Regions from separate parts of the Homo sapiens genome. Here region 1 is linked to region 2. Evidence: promoter capture Hi-C in human tissues and cell types (Jung and others, 2019). All regions are on one chromosome and are shown on one strand. Each heading gives the region's core, a stretch centred on a gene start or on the middle of the fragment in contact. The rest is flanking DNA. Distances are from core to core; before and after follow the strand shown.

Evidence for each region. Contacts are between HindIII fragments. The study calls those that stand out against the background at their distance.
Region 1: a contact is called between a fragment that was not itself captured here and the fragment with the promoter of NIPAL4 in region 2, in 1 of the 25 tissues and cell types used here (H1 embryonic stem cells).

The regions. Positions count from the first base shown.
Region 1 is chr5:156,174,942-156,180,599 of GRCh38, forward strand. It overlaps a transcript of SGCD not described here. Among named protein-coding and RNA genes, the nearest start is that of SGCD, 150 kb to the right of the region's middle. The HindIII fragment of the contact is 4,498 bases long and covers 468-4,965 here.
Region 2 is chr5:157,456,074-157,462,471 of GRCh38, forward strand. It overlaps NIPAL4 (NIPA like domain containing 4), which reads left to right and starts at 4,140. Exons shown (of 6, transcript NM_001099287.2): 1 at 4,140-4,284. The coding sequence starts at 4,248. NIPAL4-DT (NIPAL4 divergent transcript) reads right to left here and starts at 4,027. Exons shown (of 3, transcript NR_136205.1): 1 at 3,935-4,027. RefSeq lists a silencer at 4,034-4,193. The HindIII fragment of the contact is 8,008 bases long and covers 1-5,802 here.

The DNA of each region.
Region 1 (5,658 bases), core at 1,467-3,966, 1.3 Mb before region 2:
GTCAGTGGTTTGGGAATAGGATTTTAAAAAAAAGATCAAAATGTAAGCAAGAACAGTAAACTTACTAGGAGAGATAAATGAGTCTAGGGAAAGAGTAAGATTTAGTTATGAGGAGATATATTACATGAAGCAATAGTATAAAGTCAACTGAAGAGAGATTCTTGAATTCCAGTAACACCAACTTAATTGGTAACATAGAATTGATTTAATAGGTGAATAGAGAAAAGAGACTGTAAAAATAACCAAGAATATTTATGGTATTTAGGATGAATTGCTAAGTATTAATTAGTCATATAATTTTGAATTTTCCTAATACATAAGTACTTGTTCAAGGGTTAACTATGCCTGTCAGTTACTTTTGAATGTAGAAAAAAAGTAGTAAAATAAATAGTAAAATATGAATTGATGAAATAGTGGAAAAAATTTACAAATTTGCCTGGCTCTTATTTTGTGAGCGCACTCTACTTAGAAAAAAAAAATATTCGTGTACCTTAACATTTACCAAATCACCAACTACACCATATTTTACCTCTTAGTCTCATCTCTGTTCTACACTCAGAGCCAATTTTTATCAATCCCATTCTTTACTTAGCCTCTTGCAAAGAATATTATGCAAAGTATAATAATTAACCTAGGAAAATGTTTTCTAAGATATTGTTACTCAGTGGAAAATAAAATACAATAAGGAGTTTCCAGTTTTAATTTATCTTTTGAAAAATAGGGAGTCAGTAACTACTTGTGCATAAAAGAAAAATGGAAATATACTCCAAATAAATTCACTTGGAAGTCATGGGCTTTTAGAAAGACATGCTGTTATTTTGACTTCTGATGAAGGTCAATTAATATAATTGTGATGGTCCTAATCAATAATAACAAAAGTAAATGTGATTATATTTTAAGAATACAAAATTACGGTACCCTAAATTAAGGAGTAAAGATTTATGATCACCTCAGGTGGACACATTCTTACCTAAATAAGCATACATGCGGCTATTTTTCTGTGGATCTTTTTTTTTTTATTTTTGGAGTAAGTGAAAGAAGTTACTTGGCTGGTATAGAATAAGTAGAATTATTGCTCCATGCCAGATTAATGGCATTCAGAAAGTTGCTTGCGATTTTCAAAGTTTCTCTTGGTTTTAAGTTAGTGTAGTGCAGTATGGAACTCAGCTAATATACTTTGTGTGTGTGTGTGTGTTTGTGTGTGTGTGTGTTTGTGTGCGTGTGGTGATCATGGCCACAGTACTTGCTAGGAGCATGACTGAATCTACTGAATAGTAGTGCGTTCTCCTATTTTATCAACCCCAGCCAGACAAAACTGTCTAGTTTTTATATTTTAATATGCCAGAGTCAATTCTAAGGGCAAGGTGCCTCAAGTTATTGGCTTATAGGCTTCGTTCAAATAGCAACGTACTATAGATATGAAGAATGGGAAAAAATAGGTTAGGAATATCTCTAAGGAAAACCTTATGCCATTTTTTGATATGCTAGGAGATTAAAAATGTTGAAAAGACAAAAAAAGTATTTCTTTCTCTCCCATAGGAAGCTCTGTTCCATTTTTGAAATCCTAATTTCTATCTAGTTTCAGTATCTTAGGTGTTTGTGATTTTTTTTTAAAGAAAATGGTGTGTGCTGCTTTGTTTACTTTCAGAAGGTGGTGAAGAGCTCATATGTTTATCATTCAATGTAAAATAATAATTATTCTGACTGACTTCACAGAACTTTAGAAGTCTGAGTGCTTTTTAAAATCCTCTGTTGCAGGCTCTAAAAGACTCTAACAATATGTTTTATAATTACAGCTGAAAAATTGTTGGTAAATTGCGATTTTGTTTTTTGTAGTTTAAATATCTCTGAAAAATATTCTTTCTCTTCCAATGTCTACTCCATTTTTTCTTTATCTGCCTTCAGTTTTGGAAAATTACAAAGTGACAAATTGTCAGGGATGAGGATTTTTAAAAGACATAGGGACCCCTAGTTTTTCTCTAAACAAGAATACATACTTCAAACAGATAATTTGAATGCCAGCTCTAAAACAAACAAAAACAAATTAAGGTAATTTTTTATTTTTTATTTATTTTTTTGAAGCAGAGTCTTGCTCTGTTGCCCAGGCTGGAGTGAGGTGACGTGATCTCGGCTCACTGCAACCTCCGCCTCCTGGGTTCCAGCGATTCTTCTGCCTCAGCATCCTGAGTAGCTGGGACTACAGGTACACGCCACCATGCCCAGCTAATTTTTGTATTTTTAGTAGAGACGGGGTTTTACCATGTTGGCCAGGATGATCTCGATCTCTTGACCTCGTGATCCACTCACCTCGGCCACCCAATGTGCTGGGATTACAGGTGTGAGCCACCGTGCCTGGCCCAATTTTGTATTTTTAAAAAATTTTTCTGGTGAGCCTTGTGTGCTGGGATCAAGGTAAATCTTTTCTAAATGGTAGAGATATTAATATTTAAAATGGAAAATACCTTGATGGTCTGAAAAGTGGCTTTTGGGTTTATCTTATTGAGCTAGAGAAATTGCAAATGTAAGCCTTGGAAAACATGGGCACAGCAACTCAAGTTGTTACTTGATTATACAGTTCTCCTGAGGGTCCTGTGCATCTCGGGAGCTGTTTGTTTGTTTGTTTAATGAGCTATATTAAGGGATAATTTATATACAATGTACTGCATCTATTTAAAGTGTACAATTCTATTAGTTTTGACAAACATATCCCCACATGAAATTACCATTGAGATACAGAAAATTTTCATCACCCCCCAAAAGAGTCCTTAAGTCTTTTTGCAGTCCATTCCCTCCTTTCTAAACAGTCTCCCAGTCCTACAAAACCAGGGATCTAATTTTTGTTGCTGTAGACTTGTTAGGTAGGGTAGTCTTAAAAATACCCAATATTTGTTTAATGGGCGGCATTGACCAATTTGACAAGATACAGAGAAAATGAATTTTTTTAAATCACTTGGCAGCATTAAGGATGAGGACTTAATCCATGGGATTTCATCCAATGTATATTGAAAATATAAGAAGTCAAGATGGATTTAATACAGTTAACCTACTGAACATAATAGTTAAGCCTAATCTATATCTTAAGTGTGATCAGAGCACTGATGTTAGCCTACAGTTTGGCAGAATGATCTAACAGAAAGCCTATTTTATAATAAAATGTTGAATATCTCATGTAATTTATTGAATAACATACTGTGAAAAACTGTGATTGTGTGGGTATTCAAAGTACTGTTTCTACTGAATGCATGTGGCTTTCTCACCACCCCAAAGTGAAAAAAAAAATCATAAGTTGAATCATTATAAGTTGGGCACTGTCTGTCTACCCTTTGTGTAACTGAATCGTAACTAAAGAGAATGCTGTTTTGATAATGCTTCGAGTGCGTCAGCGTGGAGAGAGATTTCTAAGAAAACAGCTTGACCTGTTCTGTTATAATGTCAGTTAATCATGCATGCCAAATGCTTGAAGTTCTTTGTGCTTTCAGAGCAGGACTATACGAATATAAGAATGCTCACAACAAATCTCTTTTACAAATTAGAGTTATGAGTCTTTATACATATGCATCTCAGGTTAATTTTATTTTATTTGTTCTACATATTACACATGCTTTCAATATAATTTTATCTTATAGACAAATGATAAATCTTACCCATTGGGCCTTAGTTTTCCCCTTCTATAGAACGATGGCATTCTGATGGAAGCAGAGATTGCTCACTGCAACCTCTGCCTTCTGGGTTCAAGCAATTCTCCTGCCTCAGCCTCCCAAGTAGCTGGGATTGCAGGCATGGGCTACCATGCCTGGCTAATTTTTGTATTTTTAGTAGAGACAAGGTTGGCCAGGCTGGTCTCAAACTCCTGATCTCAGGTGATCCACCTGCCTCAGCCTCAGAAAGTGCTGGGATTACAGGTGTGAGCCACCGCGCCCAGCCTGAATGTATTAATGATTGCCAATATATGTTGTTTGAGATTTTAGCAGTGCCTACAACTTTACACTAATAGTTTCCTAATAGGTCCAACGCATAGTCACTGTTTTCACTAACAAATACTCTAATCAAGATCAAAGGTAGGTTTTAGGCTAATAAATGACAATCTCAGAATCAAAATAGGAAAAATGACTGTTGACATGTGACTGACAATATTGTTTTCTGCTTTCATCATTGCTTCCTTATGGTGCTATTTTTAACATACACATCTAAGCATGTGTTTTATAGACATTTGGGGAAGTAAGTAAATGTTTACTATTAACATTTTCTATGTACTTTTGCACTATATACATATAGTTTTTTTCTTAACAAAAATGATTTTCTATCTGTGCTGCTTGGTTTTTAAAAAATCTTATATCCTGATATCATATTTAAAAACAATGAGTGCAGCTACATGCAATTTTTCATGGCTATATAAAATCCCATTATACGGGTGTACAATAAATTTATTCATTTACGTATTGCAAGATATTTTGTTTCCTTTTGTATTATTAAAAAATGTTTCAATAATTCTTGTTGTATATACATAGTTGTATACTTACTGAGTTTGGTATTTTAAAATATCACTTTAAGAAAATCTTAGGGTCAAATGATGTGCATATGATAAAGCTTTCAATGCATATTCACAAATTGCCCTCCATATAGATTGTGTAATATATTCCCTTCTCCTCACCCCAATGAATATGTTATAATTTTCCAACTTTTTTTTTTTTTTTTTTTGAGACCGATTCTCACTCTATTGCCCAGGCTGGAGTGCACTGGCGTGATCTCGGCTCACTGGAACCTCTCCGCCTCTGGGGTTCAAGTGATTCTTCTGCCTCAGCCTCCCCAGTAGTTGGAATTACAAGTACCTGCCACCATGCCCAGCTAATTTTTGTATTTTTAGTAAAGATGGGGTTTCATCATGTTGCCCAGGTTGGTCTCGAATTCCTCACCTCAAGTGATCTACCTGCCTGGGCCTCCCAAAATGTTGGGATTACAGGCGTGAGCCACAGCACCTGGACCCAACTTTTATTTATGATACTGCAGTTGGTGAAACATGCAAACCTATAAAAAAATACAAGAGGATATATTCTTCAGAGATGTGGTGATGGAAATATTTATAGTATTTTACTTGGAACTGAAGTCAGAAGTTGTAGTTTTTGAGGCAACTTCCTTGCCACATGATCTTTAAAGGGAAACTTAAAGATAATGTGCTTCAGTTTTCACCTCTATGAATATATTCTGAGCACAAAAGTATTTTCTATTAATTGTTAAAACTATTAAAAAACTGCAATAGCATTTCCTTAGTCTGATCACAAACATATACAAAAATTGCTAAGAAATTACAGCAAACCATAATACTTAATGGTGAACTATTAAAAGCTTTTACTCTAAGATAGGGAATGAGATAAAGATGCCACCTATCTCATTTAAACGTTGTGCTGTTGATCATAGCCAGTACAATAAAGCAATAAATTAAAATAAAAAACATAAGAACTCAAAAAAATAAACAAATTTATCAGTATTCACAGCATGATTGTGTAGATAAAAACATTTTAAACTCTGTAGACAAATTCCTATAGTAAGTAATTTTAATAAAAAATCAATATATGCTCCAGCTACAAATATTAAGAAAATGAAAATTTAAAATATCATTTATAATAATGGAGGGGCCAGGGGAAAGCTTACCCTCTACCC
Region 2 (6,398 bases), core at 2,890-5,389:
CTCCAGCAACAAAGAACGATCTAGTCCAAAATGCTAACTGAGCCTGTTTTCTACTTATAGCACATCACGATTCAGATTAGCGGCTCATCAAGTTCTCAAAAGCCACATGCAGCTGGTAGCTGCCATATTGGACGGCACAGCTCTGTAACCTAAAACATCTGGACATGCACTTGGAAAAGTCAAGTTTTTAAAAACTTGGGTTTTGGTGAATTTGTTTTCCTACTCATCCCAGAATAACTGACCGAAAGAGCTGCGGCTGGGTCACCAGTCGCTGGCTGGCTAAGGGCAGAACCCATCTGTCCCTGGCTTGTTAGACCCTTCGTAAGCCACCCACCCTCCTCAGGGAGACTGAGCCTGGAACAGACAGTGAACCCTGTTGTTCTTTTCTGGGGAGACAAAGCTGCAGGCCCTGCTACCTGCCTGACAGGGCCATTGTGGCTAGAGGAGAAAAGGGCTTTGTCAGGAAGCAGCCGAGAAGACTGCAGTTCAATGGGGCCCTTTATGTCTACACTGGCAAGATGCTCTGATGCCAGCCCTGTTGAGGCCCAGCCCCCTTTTAGAACAGATGGGGAGCCTGAGGCCCAGTGAGGTTGTGAAAGTCCCTGCAGTGGATCCTAGCCTCCTTCCCCTCATGCCACTGCCCTAAAACATGAGATTCTCCTGACTCTGAAAAGGCCGGTCTTGAAGCATAGGATAAACTCAATATTGCCCTTAACCCCTGACAAGGAGGCCCCTTCCCTGACCCTAAAATTTAGAGGTTCCACAAATCACAAACACATACAAAAATAAATGCATTAAAGAACATATATGTGCATCTGTCTCTCAGGATCTGGGCTTAGCTCTGGCAACTACAATCTGAAACATCCTCTCTTGTGATTCAAAAAGGCCACTAAGAGAAGCCACTATTTAAAGTGTTCTCAACATACACGCATGTATGCACACACACGCACAATATAACTAAGTGAGGTGATAGATGTATTAATTAGCTTAATCGTCGTTATCATTCACGATGTACACCTATATCAAATCATTATGTTGTACATTTTAAATATATATAACTTTCATTTGTCAGTCATACTTCAATAAAGCGAGGAAGAAAAAAGGTCAGACCAGAGGGAAATACTCCGAATCTCTCACCCTATGTTCTTGGAATAAAAGCAGTCAAGTTTGAATGCAGTGAGGGTTTGAGGACTGTACCACTCCAGGTTCAGTGCTGACTCCGTTTTATAGCACAAGGAGGAGCTGAACAGCAGAAATGCTTAGAGAAGAGAAAGATAAGTTGAATTCTCTTGTCAAATTCTCCCTTGCAGGTAGCATGGATGCATATATTTTTTCATCATGAAGTCTCACTTCCGAATAGGGCCAATCATCTAGTGTCTTGCTGCTCTGTGTTCAAATTCATATAGTCTTGGAGGTGTTCCCCTCTACCTGAACGGTGGTACCACACACCTCCAAAGTTAGAGGCGGGCCTGGGCACACTCACCTGCAGACTTGGATATATTCTGTTGGCAATGGCTATGACTTCTGTCAACTAAAAGAAAATCAAGCTTTTAAGGAATTAAAGTTAGTTTTATTCAGAAGTCTTACTGAGGTTCTGTAATCCCAGCATTTTGGGAGGCCGGGGCAGGTGGAACACCTGAAGTCAGGAGTTTGAGATCAGCCTGGCTAACATGGTGAAACACTGTCTCTACTAAAAATACAAAAATTAGCTGGGCGTGGTGGTGGGCGCCTGTAATCCCAGCTACTCCGGAAGCTGAGGTGGGAGAATCGCTTGAACATGGGAGGCGGAGCTTGCAGTGAGCCGAGGTCGAGCCACTGCACTCCAGCCTGGGCAACAGAGTGAGACTCTGTCTCAAAAAAAAAAAAAAAAAAAAAAGCAGAAGTCTTACTGAGGACTAGAGACTGAAGACAAAGTCTGGGAGGAGTCTTTCAGAGAGGTCCTGTCCCACTGCTCTGAAACAGTGTTTTAGCTCATAGCTGATATACACGTAGCAGAAGTGCAGTATGTGCTCAAACATTACATCAAACTTGCTCAGAAGTTACAGTAAAGCAGAATCACATGAAAGTCTGGGTGCAAGAGTATATCTGGTTATAGATGATAGAGGCATAGTCACTAACCTTGTCAAACATTATCCTATGTGTAGGAATAGGCAAGGTCTAGGGTCATTTATCTTTTAAGAAATATAGTGTCTCAGGCAAAAGTTGTGGGGGCCTTGTGCTGTATCCTGCTTTGTTTTCAAAGCATTTTTCCAGAGAGGTGCACATCATTACAGAATCAAGGGCTTGTGAAATTATGCAGCAAGTAAAATGAGCAAACGTGGCTTGTTACATTTGCTGTGTCTCACATTTCCCTTTCTCTTTTAACCTCTCCCTTCCCCAACCCGATCCCGACCCCTTGGAGAAGGGGCTGTTGCATTTGACAAAGAAATTGATCCTTATGTAGAGTAAGCAACTTGTTTAAAGTCATCCAGCAAATTAGAGGAAGCCCCATGCTGGGAGAACCCATCCTTAGAGGCCCAGCTAGAGGTCCGCAAGTAGACAGTGGAGGGTCGTAGGTAGGAGGACAGGCTTGGGGTCAGAGCAGCTCGGTTTACACCTGGCACCCTCGTTCACTAGCTGTGCAACCTTGGGAGCAAGTGTCTCAGAGTATTTAAAGGACAGTTTTTTCTATTCCTATACAAGATGTTAACATTAAGGGAAGCTGGTGACAGGTATATGGGAACTCTCTATACTATTTTCGTAACTCTTCTATAAGTCTAAAATTATCTCATGATAAAATTTTTAAAAATAACAGTTTCCTCTTATCTGTAGCATGGAAAGAGTAAGGATATCTGTCTCCTAGGAGGCTTCGATGAGACAGTGCCTGGAAAGGGGTTAGCACAGTGTCTGGCCCATGCTGACGACTCCATACATAACAATTCTTAAAAGCTGCCTCCTCCAGGAAGCCGGTGAGCACCACTGGCAGAACCAATCACTGCTTTCTCAGTAGCCCCACACCCTCACTGCCCAGGAGCAGTTTATTTCAGTGTAAAATGCCAGGCGGCTTAATGTGACCACTGACAGCACGAGTTTGATCCTGGCTTTTCTGCTTCTCAGCTGAGATCCCCAGCAAGTTACTTGAGCACTTTGTGCCTCAGTTTCCTTTTGGTAAATAATAAAAGTCTGTACATTATAAGGCGGTCATGAAGATTAAATGAACTGGAATTTTTCAGCACTTAGAACTCTGCCTGGCCTATAGCAAACTCTACATACCTATTTTTATGCTCCAGGTCAGTGGTTTTCTAACTTGCTTTTTACTGTTACCCATAGTAACAAATATGCTTTCCATCACAACGTGTGTATGTGTGTGTGTGTATAAATAATTTTAAAGTGGTAATTTCAAAAACATTGGTCTCTAAGAGATGATCACATTTTGTTTCCCCCATTAAAATATAAGGTACTTGGGGGACAGGGAATAGTCTGACTCATTTTGGTCTCCAATCACTTCATTTCCTTCTTTCATTTAATTTACCAAGCTCCTATTATCTATTCATTAGACATAAATATATATTGAGCATTAACTCACTATGTACCTGTTACCTACCAGCACAGATCAGACCTGGGTTGAATCAATGAACGGGTAAGGCAAGGAAAGGAGGTCGCAGGGCAGAAGGCAGGGAGGAAGGGCAGGAGGGTGAAATGGAAGGAAGGGAGGAAAGGTGGAGGGGAGGAAGGAGAGGGGGAGGGTAGGAGGGCGAGAAGGAAGGAAAAGAAGGAACCCAGGTTCCCAATTGGCAGCAGTACCCACTTCCAACCCCTATGTTGCCACTTCCACCTCGGCAGGAAAGTTGCCCCTTCTCCAGCCATCTAGGTCCCCTGTACTCTTTCCCTGGGGATGGAGCTGGGTGCCGGTGCAGGCATCGGAGGAGCGGTGCCGGGGAACCCGCCTCCTCACCTCTTGCCCCTAGCACGGGGCGGTGACTCCAGAGCTGGGAGCCTGGCAGCGTCCTCACCCCAGGAAGGCATGCGCCCCTCTGCGGGCGGCCCCAGCCCTGGGCCCCCTGCCCCCGGAATTGCCCAAGATGCCGGGTGACTCCTCCCCGGGGACTCTCCCACTCTGGGACGCGTCACTCTCCCCACCCCTGGGTCCGGACCCCGGCGGCTTCTCGCGCGCGAGCCACGCGGGGGACAAGTCGCGGCCACCTGCTCCGGAGCTGGGGAGCCCGGGCGCCGTCCGCCCGCGCGTCGGTTCGTGTGCCCCGGGCCCCATGGAGCTGCGGGTCAGCAACACCAGCTGCGAGAACGGTGCGTACGGCAGGGCTGGGGACCAGGCGGGCTCCGCGCTTCGCGCCCTCCCCTCCTTGCCACCGCTCTCCCTCGCATCCTCTCCTCCCAGGGGGGCCAAAGCTGGGGAGGGGCAGGGCCAGCACGAGGTGGCTCCCACCCAGCTTTGAAGATCTGGGTTCTGGCTGAGACTTCACTTTCATCTTCGCAGCTGGGATGGCTGAGAGGAGTCAGGGAAGGAAAGTATGTCCCCTGGGTTGAGATGGGGGGTTAGTGGGGGGCAGGCATTTTGACGACAGCAGACACCCTGAGAGGTGGTGGGGGCGGGGGGAGGATTCTGTGTTTTTAATGTGTAGTTGCTTCAGGTTTTAGTACCTGCGCAGTTTGGGCTTTCTCTCTGGGTCAATGGGAGGACCATCACAGGACGGTCTTGTCTTTGGAAAAGAAAAAGAACCACAGGAAGGGGTAAAGAAAGACCCCTGACTTCCTATTGCGTTCTGACCATAAAGCAGGTAGTGGACTAGGCCCTTTACCCGCATTATCTCACTGAATCCTTAAAACAACTCTAGAAGGTAGGTAGGTATTATTATTTTACTATCTTGCTATCCCCACTCTAAAGATCCAGAAACTGAGGCTCTGAGCAGCTAATAATTTGCTCAAGGTAATACAGTGAGGAAATGGAATATAGATCCAAGGCTGGTGGACAGTAAAACCTCAACTCCTTCCTTGGTGTGGCTCCACTTTCCTACCTTGTCTTGGAACTGCAGGCTGTGGCATGTCCCTGTTTCTCTAACCTCTTCCCTTCTACAGTGAAGCTTTCAAAGCCAGCCTGTTAGGTGTCTGACTTTGGTTTCCTGAACAAGGCAGGCATTTTCAGCCTCACCTTTTCTCTAGGCCAGAATGTGTTCCCCAGTCCTAGCATATTCTGGAAGAGATAACAGGAATCATCTGGCCCATGCTCAGAATTGGATTACTTTGGCCATCAGCCCTCTGTCTTTTACTTTTCACTGCAGTGGGAGAACTTGACTCAATGGAGGATGCTCAGCCCTTGGGTGTTGCGGGCTTTACTGTGACAGCCAAGTCCATCCACAGAGGGTTCGTTGGCTCCATCTGCTAGAGGTGCACCTTCAGGGAGCAGGGGAAGGGCGTGGGGATGAGTTTGGTCTTCCTCTCAGGAGTCACCTCCCCTAGCCCATGTTCTCCCAGGTTCTGGCTCATTTCCTGGGCTCAGGGAACTCCCCAGATTCAGCTCTTGGGCAAGGAAGCCTGAGCTGGAGAAACAGGAATGAGCAGTGCAGAACAAGTCTGATTAGGGACTGAGATGCCTCTTGTCTCATCTTCCCTTGATTGTGACACGAGTTTTGGAAAGAGAGATATCACACTGCAAAAGACACATGGATGTGCCCCAGTGGGTGCTGGATCCAGATCTTTCACCAGATGTTGGGGTGACTTAAGCAAGCTCTTCCCTTTCTCAGGGCCTCAGTTTCCCCAGAAAAAATAAGAATTTAGACTGCTTTCTAAGGGCTCTTCAAGCTCTGTTATTCATGGGTCTGTGTCGTGGAAGAAAGGTCAACATTGCCTTTAGTCTGTTCCACCAAGATGCCACTCTGCCCTGCAGATGTGCCAGAGCCAGAGTTGCTTGACCATGGACTTTGGGGCCCTTCCAGGCACTGCCTGGGAGTTCTAGGTTGGTGGGAGAAATACTTGGTTGAGGCTTACATCCTTGGCATAGGGACCTGGGCCTTGGTGACACACAGCTTGAAAAAGGCTACCTCCAGAGGTAACAAACTCAGATGCCTACAAAGGCCAAGCACGTGCTAGAAATTACTGAAAGGAGCCAGATAAGACTCTTGGGGAACTGCAGAGAGTATGTCCTATTTTAGGGGGCAACACTGCCCAGCTGCAGCCAGTTGTTGCCTTAGAAGAGGGCCCAATATGGTAAGCAGATCTGATTTTTCACCGTAGCCTCCCATCTGAATTTTCATGGAAAATCTCCCAATTTTTAAATGTTTTCTATTTTAAAATACCTCTTAGGGCCAGGCACGGTGGCTCACGTCTGTAATCTTAGTGCTTTGGGAGGCTGAGGCAGGAGGATAGCTTGAGGCTAGGAGTTCAGACCACCCTCTGCAACATAG